2 separate regions of the Homo sapiens genome follow, and region 1 is linked to region 2. Evidence: promoter capture Hi-C in 16 types of primary human blood cells and fetal thymus (Javierre and others, 2016). All regions are on one chromosome and are shown on one strand. The core of a region is centred on a gene start or on the middle of the fragment in contact, and the rest is flanking DNA. Distances in the headings are between cores, read along the strand shown. Region 1 overlaps EPS15L1 (epidermal growth factor receptor pathway substrate 15 like 1). Region 2 holds the start of RAB8A (RAB8A, member RAS oncogene family).

Region 1 (5,513 bases), core at 2,866-5,365, 280 kb before region 2:
GCCACTGCACTCCAGCCTGGATGACAAGAGTGAAACTCTGTCTCAGAAAAAAAAAAAGAAAGAAAGAAAAATAGACATAAACTTGACCATCTTCACTGTCTTTAAGTGTACAGTTCAGTAGTGTTAGGTATATTCACATTGTTGTGGAACCCAGCTCTAGAACGTTTTCATCCCCATGAAATACCCACTCCCCATCCCCCCACCCACAGCCCCTGGCAGCCACTGTTCTACTTCGTCACTGTGAATGTGATGACTCTAGGGTTCTCATAGAAGTGGAATCATACCTTGTGTGTTGTTTTGTGACTGTGATTTCACTCAGCAGCCTCTCCTCAAGGTTCTTCCATGTTGGAGCATGTGTCAGAATTTGCTTCCTTTTGAAGGCTGAATCAGATTCTGTTGTGTGGCTCGTTACAATTTTCTTGATGACATTTCAAATTCATTATTTTTTTCTGACTTAGAAAAAAATTTTGTTTTTCCGTTTATCCATTCATTCATCGATGGACATTTGAGTTGCTTCCACTCAATGATTTTTTAATGAACTTTTATTTTAGAATAGTTTTTAGATTTATGAAAAAATTGCAAAGATAGGCCAGGTGCGGTAGCTCATGCCTATAATCCCAGTACGTTGGGAGGCTGAGGTGGGAGGATCAGTTGAGCTCAGGAGTTCAAAACCAGCCCTGGCAACATAGTGAGAGACTTCATTTCTACAAAAAATATAAAAATTAGCCAGGCTTGGTGGTGCGCGCCTATAGTCCTGGCTACTCGGGAGACCGACGTGGGAGGATCACTTGAGCCCAGATGGTCAAGGCTGGAGTAACCCATGAGTGTGCAACTGCACTCCAACCTGGACAACAGAGTGAGACCCTGTTTCAGAAAAAGAAAAACTGCAAAGATAGTGCATAGTTCCTCTATATCCCACACCCAGTTCCTCCTGTTAGTCACATCATATATAGTACATTTGTCACAACTAATGAACCAGTATTAAACATTATTATTCACTCAAGTTCATACTTCTTCAATGATCTTTAATTAATTTTTTTTTTTAAAGATACAGGGTCTTGCACTGTTGTGGCTGGAGTGCAGTGGCACAATCATAGCTCACTGTAACCTCCACCTCCTGGGTTCAGGCAATCTCCTGAGTCAACCTCCCAAGTAGCTGGGATTATAGGTACACGCCACCACACCTTGATTTTTTTTTTTTTTTTTTTGAGATAGACTCACTCTATCGCCCAGGCTGGAGCGCAATGGCGTAATCTCAGCTCACTGCAACCTCCACCTCCTGGGTTCAAGCAGTTCTCCTGCCTCAGCCTCCCAAGTAGCTGGGATTACAGGTGCCCGGCACAACACCCAGCTAATTTTTTGTATTTTTAGTAGAGACAGGTTTTCACCATGTTGGCCAGGCTGGTCTTGAACTCCTGACCTCAGGTGATCCACCTGCTTTGGCCTCCCAAAGTGCTGGGATTACAGGCGTGAGCCACCATGCCTGGCCTCATTTTTAAATTTTTGTTTTTATAGAGATGGGATTTTGCTATGTTGCCCAGGCCAGCCTCGAACTCCTGGCTAAATCATTCTTTTTAGGGTCATGCTACTCAAAGTGGAAATGTGAGTTAAGTATGGAATTCCGTACTTTGCTTTAACTCAGAAATAATAAAATCCCTGTCCTGTTTCTTCACAAAATTGTAGGATGATCCTTTCAAAAATAAAGCCTTGTTATTTAGCAACAACACGCAAGAGTTGCATCCGGATCCTTTCCAGACAGAAGACCCCTTCAAATCTGACCCATTTAAAGGAGCTGACCCCTTCAAAGGTATCTCACTTGCTACCCACTTTCTCATTGAAAGACTGTGTGTTTTATGTCGAATTTAGAGTGGTTCTTCAACTAGAAAAGTAAGGACATGCCACAATCTGAAATGGAGGGGGAAAGGAATGCCTTTTTTTTTTTTTTTTTTGGAGACGAACTCTCGCTCTCTTGCTGTCAGCCAGGCTGGAATGCAGTGGCGCAATCTCGGCTCACTGCAACCTCCGCCTCCTGGGTTCAAGCAATTCTCCTGCCTCAGCGCCCATCACCGCACCCGGCTAATTTTTGTATATTTAGTAGAGTTGGGGTTTCACTGTGTTGCCCAGTCTGGTCTCGAACTCTTGACCTCAGGTAATCCACCCGCCTCAGCCCCACAAAGTGCTGGGATTACAGGTGTGAGGCACCGCACCCAGCAGGAACGCCTTTTAAGCTTCTTATCTCACCCTGTTAACCAGAGAGCCAAGGCATCAAGATACAGTGGGAAGTGTTCCAAGCTCACCACAAGACCCACATTTGAAGGCAGCTTGGCCAGCCCCCTTGAACCCTTCAGTACTTCAGTTTCCTAATCCCTCAGCAGGTTAATAAATTTCCTCCTTGCTCACCTCACAGGGTTGATAAAATAATCAGAGCTAGTAATGATCATGAAAGTACCTGGAAAACCATGGATTCCTACATAAACCTAAGGTCTGGATAATTTTAGGAGTCTGTCCAGAGCCACACCTGAGTCAAGAATAACTAAGAATTCCAGAAACAAGATTTCCAAGTTTCTGTCCATGTTTCAGAGCAAAACAGTATTTCCAGGAGGAAGGCTCTCTACATTTTTGAGAAAAACACTGAGGTGGGGAGAGGGCAGCGGGAGCTTGAGCTTCAGCTTGGGTTTGAAGCCTGCCGGGTCTGAGAGGCGAATCTGGCAGCCCCTGAAGCCCAGGGGTGCCGCCGCCTCATTGCTGCAGGGCCGGTGATAAAGTGAGGGACAGCCCAGGGTCCTGTGTCCTCTTACCCAGGGAGCTGGCAGGCAGATGGGATAAAGGAAACCCAGCATGGGAAGAGAGGAGTGAATTCTAGCCCACTCTGTGTCTTCCCCAACTCCAGTCTGTGTGGGACAGCCAGCAGTACCTTCCTTCTCATCTTAAACATCCTAGCCAGAAACAGCTGCCTCCTCCAGGTCCCCCTCTTTGATTTGCCAAGGTTTTGAGGGCAGGTGGATAGTAGAGAAGGAACTAACATTCTCTCCCTACACTGGAGGAGTAGAAGGCAATGAAAGGCTTGGGAGGTGGGTGGCTGTGTCCAAGGGCCCGGCCCGCATCCTGTGCCCTAGAGCTAATAAGCATTTCTCTCCTCTTCCAACCAGGCGACCCGTTCCAGAATGACCCCTTTGCAGAACAGCAGACAACTTCAACAGGTAAAATTCAGTGTTTCCCGGACCGGTCTTTAGACTGTGTCCAGTCCTGGCTCAGAAGTCGCATGTGGTGGGACTTGTGTCCACATACACCGGGGATGGCAGCCATGTAACTGGGAAGGACGGCCGTCCATCCATGTTGTACCCATTCTCGGTCCCGTTCCCTTCTGGAGGTGGCTCCCCTCCCCAGGTCCAGTCACTGCCCGCACCCCACCCTGGAGTGTGGTGGGATCACATTGCTTGCTAATTTATTTATTTATTTTATTTATTTATTTATTTATTTATTTTTTATTTTTTTTTTTTTTGAGACGGAGTCTCGCTCTGTCGCCCAGGCTGGAGTGCAGTGGCGCGATCTCGGCTCACTGCAAGCTCCGCCTCCCGGGTTCACGCCATTCTCCTGCCTCAGCCTCCCAAGTAGCTGGGACTACAGGCGCCCGCTACCACGCCCGGCTAATTTTTTGTATTTTTAGTAGAGACGGGGTTTCACCGTGTTAGCCAGGCTCGTCTCACACTCTTGACCTCAGGTGATCTGCCCACCTTGGTCTCCCAAAGTGCTGGGATGACAGGCGTGAGCCACCATGCCCGACCGATTTATTTTTTTTCAGGTGAAATTTATGTAACATAAAAGTCACTGTTTTAAAGCATCCAATTCAGTGGTATTGAGCACACTCACAGTGTTGTGCAATGATCACCTTCATCTAGTTCCACAACATTCTCATCCCCCCAAAAGGAGACCCCATCCCAATCAGCAGTCACTCCCCATTCCCTCCCGCAACCCCTGGCACCCACCAACCTATTTTCTGTCTCTATGGATTTACCTGCGTTGTTTATTATTATTATTATTATTATTATTATTATTATTATTATTATTATTATATCCAGCTCCTGCAGGATATTTTATTTATTTATTTAGAGATGGGGTTTTACTCTATTGCCTAGGCTGGAGTGCAGTGGCGCAATTATAGCTCACTGCAGCCTTGACCTCCTGGGCTCAAGCAGCCTTTCTGCCTCAGCCTCCTTAGTAGCTGATACTACAGGCGTGTGCCACCACACCTGGCTAATTTTTTATTTTATTTTTCTCTGTGTTGCCCATGCTGGTCTTGAACTCCTGGCCTCAAGTGATCCTCCTATCTCAGCCTCCTAAAGTGATGGGATTACAGGCATGAGCCATTGTGCCTGGCCAGGATATTATTATTTTTAAAGTCAATTTTATTGAGTGGCATAATTTACACAGAACAAAATTCACCCATTTTACTATGTAATAAGATGAGTTTCATTAAATATGCACGGTTGTGTGCAATTTGAGAACACTTCTGTCATTCCTGAGGCCCCTTTGTTGTCACCCTCCACCCTCTCCTCAGGGTCCCCTGGCCACCATTATCCTGTTTTCCGTCACTAGCGTTCTTACCTTTCTAGAATTTCATGTAAACGGCATCATTCTGTGATGTGTTCTTTTATGTCTGGGTTCTTTCACTTGGTATAATGTTTACTTATGGGGCATTTTTCCTTCTAGATCCATTTGGAGGGGACCCTTTCAAAGAAAGTGACCCATTCCGTGGCTCTGCCACTGACGACTTCTTCAAGAAACAGACAAAGAATGACCCATTTACCTCGGATCCATTCACGAAAAACCCTTCCTTACCTTCGAAGGTGAGTGGGGTGGGACGTTGCCCGGGAGAGCTGCGTGCCTGCTCTGTGTGGTAAGGGTGGCGCTTCCCGAAGGCCCCCTTCCCTTCGTGGAGCGTACATGGTGCCTGCGAGTGTGGGCCATGGTGTCTGTTCTCCGGGAGCTGGTATCCCAGGCTGATTTCATTCCTGCTGAGTGAGGGAGCTCACTGGCCTAGTCACTGCAGTGACATCCTGTGAGCCCCAAGGTGCAGTTAGCAGTCCAGTGGCCCCACATCAGGGCAAGGAGGATGTCACCCATAGTTCTTATTTCTCTATCCCCATTCCTACCCCTCAACTCTAGTCATCTGCCCCCACTGCCCCTTCATCTCCCAAAAAAGACTAAATCACACAAGCACCACATGCTCGCATGGACCCGGCCACCCTGCACGGTCCTTGTAACACACAGCACTGGTGGGGACCTTAGAGTCACGTTTGGTAGGTGCTCCCGTCACGGCAGGAGTAAGTGCAGGCGTCTCAGCCCGGCTGCCTTGCCTGGTGTCTCCTGAGAGCATCAGCCAACTCTGACCCTCCAGTTTCCAACTCCAGCATACCTGTACTCCCATCCCCGGGCGTGGCAGACACCGGGTATTTTGCATATTATGCCCAAGAGATTGGGTTAAATAGGTGTCAACTTGGATTTCAAAACCA
Region 2 (5,283 bases), core at 724-3,223:
AGGCTGGGCAGACAGTGTCACTCCTGCTCTAAAGACAGCAGGGCTCAGAGAGGGGTAGTGCACATTCAAGGGCAAACAGCAACTGGAAACCAGACGTAATGATTTCCAGTCAATTCTCTCTATTTTACATCTGGCATATAACTGTTTTATAAAGCACAGCTCCGCTGGGTGCGGTGGCTCATGCTTGTAATCCCAGCACTTTGGGATGCCAAGGCAGGCAGATCACAAGGTCAGGAGTTCGAGACCAGCCTGACCAACACAGTGAAACCCTGTATTTACTAAAAATACAAAAATTAGCTGGACGTGGTGGCGGGTGCCTATAATCCCAGCTACTAGGGAGGCTGAGGCAGGAGAATTGCTTGAACCCGGGAGGCAGAGGTTGTAGTGACCCGAGATCCTGCCGCTGGATTCCAGCCTGGGCAAAAGAGCTAGACTCCGTCTCAAAAAATAAAATAAAATAAAATAAATAAAGCATAGCTCCTGGAGGAGGGCAAGAATGGAATTAGCACATTATCTTGGGGTTCAGGGAGATAACACGATTCTGTCAAAGTGACACAGTAAAGCAAAGGCCATTCCCTAGGTTTTCTTGAGTCGGAATAAACTCCTGGACTTAGTGACCGTTCCCCCACTTTCCCCATCCCTAGCAGGGCTACAGAGCTCACAAGCCACTCAAATAGGTGTTACTCCTGGGTCAAACCTTTTCATTGTGGGCCAGGACTGCTTTTGTGGCACTGAGAGAGGTCAGCTCCACTTCTGTGGACATCACAACTGAGATGCACCAAGCCAATTCTGTTCAACCACAATGTGGGCTGGCCCTACAGGAAAAGCTGTTCTAAAGTGACAGCTGGAGTCTTGGGCCCTTTGATAGGGAAGTCAAGGCTGTCTGTGGCAGTGGCTGATTTAGTTTCTCGCTGAGGCTTTTATCTTGCATCTTCTTGGGGATGACAGGTCCCAGGGCAGGCAGTGCTGTCACTTGCCATTGCTGTCATTCCTGGAGCAGGATGAAAGGTGGGCAGGGAAAAGGTCCTGACTCTTCTTATCATTCCTTCTAGAGGAAAATACGCTTATGAGGGGAAGCATGGTCAGGGAGAGGGGCTCAACCTCTGAACGCTCCAGAGAAAAGAGCAGGAATGGTGTGGGTTAGAGTCCCGGCTCCAAGGTGCATTAGCTGAGCTTGTCATCAGCTGGGAGTGTGCAGTGGCATCTCTCTAGGAGAGCTAAGCCTCGAGTTTTGGGTTGAGACACAGCCAGGTTCAAATTCCATCAAATCCCATTCTCACCACGTGCAGACTGTGTGGCCTTGGGCAAGTTCCATGCCCTCCCTGAGCCTCAGATTCCTCATCTTGTCAGACGGGCTCATAACAGCACTTAACACCAAGAACTGAAGAGTGTGAAAATGCACGTGAAGCACTTGGCACATAGTAAATGCTCATTAAGGTGAGATGCCACTGTCTTTTTCCCATGGCCAATTCCCCATGACTCAGTTTCCACTTCTGTAAGGCAAGAGCCTCAAAAGAACCGCTTCGAGGGCTGCTGCTAGGACAGATCGAGAGGACGGGCGCGAAGACCCCAGCCCAAGACATAACACGCCCTAACGAGCGGGCTGAGGGTCGGAGCCTCAGTCTCCCTATCTGCAAAATGGGCACCTGGTCTCCCCCACCACGGCCCAGGAACCCCCGAACGGCGGTGCAGGCGACTGCTCTTCTCCCTTTAGGCCCCCTCGACCCTCTCAGCGCCCTCGGCCCGTCCAGCCCTGTAGATCCCTCAGCCCCAGCCCCTCAGGGGCGCGCCCAGCCCGGGCCTCCGGCGCCCCCAGCCATTCCCCGGTCCCGTTACCTATGGTGGAGATAAAAGTGGAGTTGAAGGCGTCCTCGGAGAAGCGGAACAGGACACAGGTCTTCCCCACCCCCGAGTCCCCGATCAGCAGCAGCTTGAACAGGTAATCGTAGGTCTTCGCCATATTACACTCTCTCCCCGACGGGAAGTGCGGCCAGCGCCTCTCCACTGGCCACCAGCACCGTCCATCAGCACCGAGCCCGCCCCTTATTGGCTCCAGGCCCGCTGCGCGTCACCGCGGCCGACGCCCGCCCCTGCGTCCCGCCAGTCGCGGGGAGACCTTGGGAGGGGGCGAGCGGAGCGCGGAGCCGGAAGCAGCCCGAGCGCACCTCCCATTGGCCGGCACTAGGGAGAGCACGGGCTCTGATTGACCAGCAGTGAAGAGTCGCGGGGCTTCAAATGGGGACGAGGCGGGGGCGTGGCATTATGTGGCCCCCGCCTTCCACCCCCGACTCGGGCGGCCCGGCCCCGCCCCACTGTAGGAGAGGGAAGGCAGGGAGCGGCGCCAACCGCTCGCGCGCCGGCAGCCTGGCGGGGCGTGGCTTGGGGTGCGTGCGCACGCGCGCCCGGAGTTCCGTTAGGCGACAGCAGAGGGCGCACGCCAGTAGTTGGGGCGGGTGTCTCTGGGTCCCGCCCTCACAGCTCGCGCAGGCGCAGTAGGCACCGAGGCGAGCGCGGGAAAGCAAGGTAGCGCTCTCAGCCTTGTCTGCGGCCTGCGAGTCGGGGCAGTGGGGGCCTAGGGAGGAAGGAGAGAGGAGGAGCTGTATACTCGAAAAGTGACCCAAGCCGGACGCGGTGGTTCACGCCTTTAATTCCCACACTTTGGGAAGCCGAGGCGCGTGGATCACGAGGTCAGGAGTTCAAGACCAGCCTGGCCAAGATGGTGAAACCCCGTTTCTACTAAAAATACAAAAATTAGCCGGGCGTGGTGGCGGGCGCCTGTAATCCCAGCCACTCGGGAGGCTGAGGCAGAGAATTGCTTGAATCTGGGAGGCGGAGCTTGCAGTGAGCCGAGATCGCGCCATTGCACTGCAGCGTGGGCGACAGAGAGAGACTCCGTCTCAAAAAAAATAAATAAAAGTGACCCAAGACGAGCTCCGAGGTCTGCGGCCTAGCGATCTGCTTAGAGATACCCAAGGCCTCCGCCATCTGAGCGGCTTCACCGCCACAAGCTGTGCCCGGAAGCGCGCGCCGGCCTCCTCAGGGCCCGCCCTCGGCCACCTTAGGGGTTGTCCGGGCCAGCCCGGGGATGGTGGGGGGGGAGGGGTTAGAGCAGTGAGGATGCTGGGTCCTATCTAGGGGCCAGGGCTCTCAACGTTGAAAAAACTGGCCGGGGCGTTGGCTCCCGTCTGTGATCCCAGTGCTTTGGGAAGCCAGGAGGTTGAGGGTGCAGTAAGCCGTGATCGCCCCACTGCAATTCGGCCTGGGCGACAGAGCAAGACCCTATCAAAAGAAAAAAAGGCTGGGCGCGGTGGCTCAGGCCTGTAATCCCGCACTTTGGGAGGCCGAGGCGGGCGGATCAGGAGGTCAGGAGATCGAGACCATCCTGGCTAACGCGGTGAAACCCCGTCTCTACTAAAAACACAAAAAATTACCCGGGAGTAGTGGCGGGCGCCTGTAGTCCCAGCTACTCGGGAGGCTGAGGCAGGAGAATGGTGTGAACCCGGGAGGCGGAGCCTGCAGTGAACCGAGATCGCGCCACTGCACTCCAGTCTGGGCGACAGAATGAGACTACGTCTCAAAAAAAAAAAAAAAAAAAAAAAGAAAGAGAAAAACAGAGGAGAGATACATTTGGAAAATCGGGCTTGCAGCTGGGTGTGGTGGCTCAGGCCTGTAATCCCAGCACTTTGGGAGTCAGCACTTTGGGAGGCAGGAGGATTGCTTGAGCTTAGGAGGTCAAGACCAGCCCGGACAAGATAGGGAGATCCCCATCTCTACAACAAATAAAATTAGCTGGGCGTCATGGTGCACGCTTGTAATCCCAGCACTTTGGGAGGCTGAGGTGGAGGTTCATTGGAGGCCAGGAGGTGGAGACCAGCCTGGGCAACATAGCAAGACCTCCATCTCTGCAAAAAAAAAAAAGTTTTTTGGCCAGGCGAGGTGGTTCACACCTGTAATCCCAGCACTTTGGGAGGCCAAGGCAGGTGGATCACCTGAGGTCAGGAGTTCCAGACCAGCCTGGCCAACATGGTAAAACACCATCTCTGCTAAAAATACAGAAACTAGGCAGGTGTGGTCATGTGCGCCTGTAGTCCCAGCTACTCAGGCGGCTGAGGCACCAGAATTGCTTGAATCTGGGAGGCGGAGGTTGCAGTGAGCCGAGATTGTGTCACTGCATTCCAGCCTGGGTGACAGAGCAAGGCTCCATCTCAAAAAACAAAAAATTTTTTTAAAAAATTAGCCAGGTATGGTGGTGTATGCTTGTAGTCCCAGCTACTCAGGAGGCTAAGGTGGGAGGATCCCTTGAGCCCAGGAGGTCAAGGCAGCAGTGAGCTGTGATCGCACCATTGCACTCCAGCCTGGGCGACGGAGCAAGACCCTGACTTTTTTTTTTTTCTGAGATGGAGTCTCTCACGGTCACCAGGGCTGGAGTGCAATGGCGCGATCTTGGCTCACTGCAACCTCTGCCTCCCGGGTTCAGGCGATTCTCCTGCCTCAGCCTCCCAAGTAGCTTGGATTCCAGGCACCCACCACCACGCCTGGTGTGGTGTATTTTTTTGTATTTTTAGTAGAGATGGGGTTTCACTGTGTTGGCCAGGCTGGTCTCGAACTCCTGACCTCGTGATCCGCCTGCCTCCACCTCCCAAAGTACTGGGATTACAGGCGTGAGCCCCTGCACCCGGCCCCTGACTCTTAAAATTTTAATCCCAGTACCAGCCCAGCAAAACGATGTTATTGTTTTTTTCCTGTTTAATGGTGAGAAAACTGAAGCCAGAGGAGGTTAAGTGACTTTTCCCCCTTCCTGCTTAAAAGTGGGAATTTGGTATCTGAACTCAGAGTGCCAAGCTTCCCAGGCCGCAGTTTGATCACTAGGGCTCCCTGCTTCTTAGAGATGGTCCAGTCTGTTCTAGGTCACTCTGGGGCCTCCGGGGCCTTGAGGCTTACTTAAGGATCTGTGGAAGGAGGGCCCAGCCTTTCCTCCTCCCTTCCACTTCAGCTCATTCTTCTGCTAATCTAGCTCTGGTTAAAAAAGCTTCAACCAGAGGCATTGACCACCTACAGGCCTCAGCCTCTGTGGTATTTGATAGTCTTGATCACCTCTGAATATTCTTTTTTCTTGGTATTATCCTCATTTATTTACTTATTTTTGAGACAGGGTCTTGTTCTGTGGCCCAGGCTGGAGAGCAATGGTGTGATTTCACTCACTGCAACCTCCGCCTCCCAGGCTCCAGTGATTCTCCCACCTCAGCCTCCAGAGTAGCTGGAACTACTGGCATGCACCACCAC

The links. Contacts are between HindIII fragments. The CHiCAGO score rates a contact against its expected background, and 5 or more counts as called.
Region 1: a fragment that was not itself captured here is called in contact with the fragment with the promoter of RAB8A in region 2 in 1 of 17 cell types (naive CD8 T cells); the score reaches 5.5 in naive CD8 T cells.

The regions. Positions count from the first base shown.
Region 1 is chr19:16,391,638-16,397,150 of GRCh38, reverse strand. It overlaps EPS15L1 (epidermal growth factor receptor pathway substrate 15 like 1), which reads left to right. Exons shown (of 24, transcript NM_001258374.3): 17 at 1,684-1,807; 18 at 3,150-3,200; 19 at 4,711-4,847. Among named protein-coding and RNA genes, the nearest start is that of KLF2, 70 kb to the right of the region's middle. The HindIII fragment of the contact is 3,769 bases long and covers 2,231-5,513 here.
Region 2 is chr19:16,108,579-16,113,861 of GRCh38, reverse strand. It overlaps RAB8A (RAB8A, member RAS oncogene family), which reads right to left and starts at 1,973. Exons shown (of 8, transcript NM_005370.5): 1 at 1,837-1,973. The coding sequence starts at 1,960. RefSeq lists a silencer at 1,931-2,590. The HindIII fragment of the contact is 12,373 bases long and covers 1-4,844 here.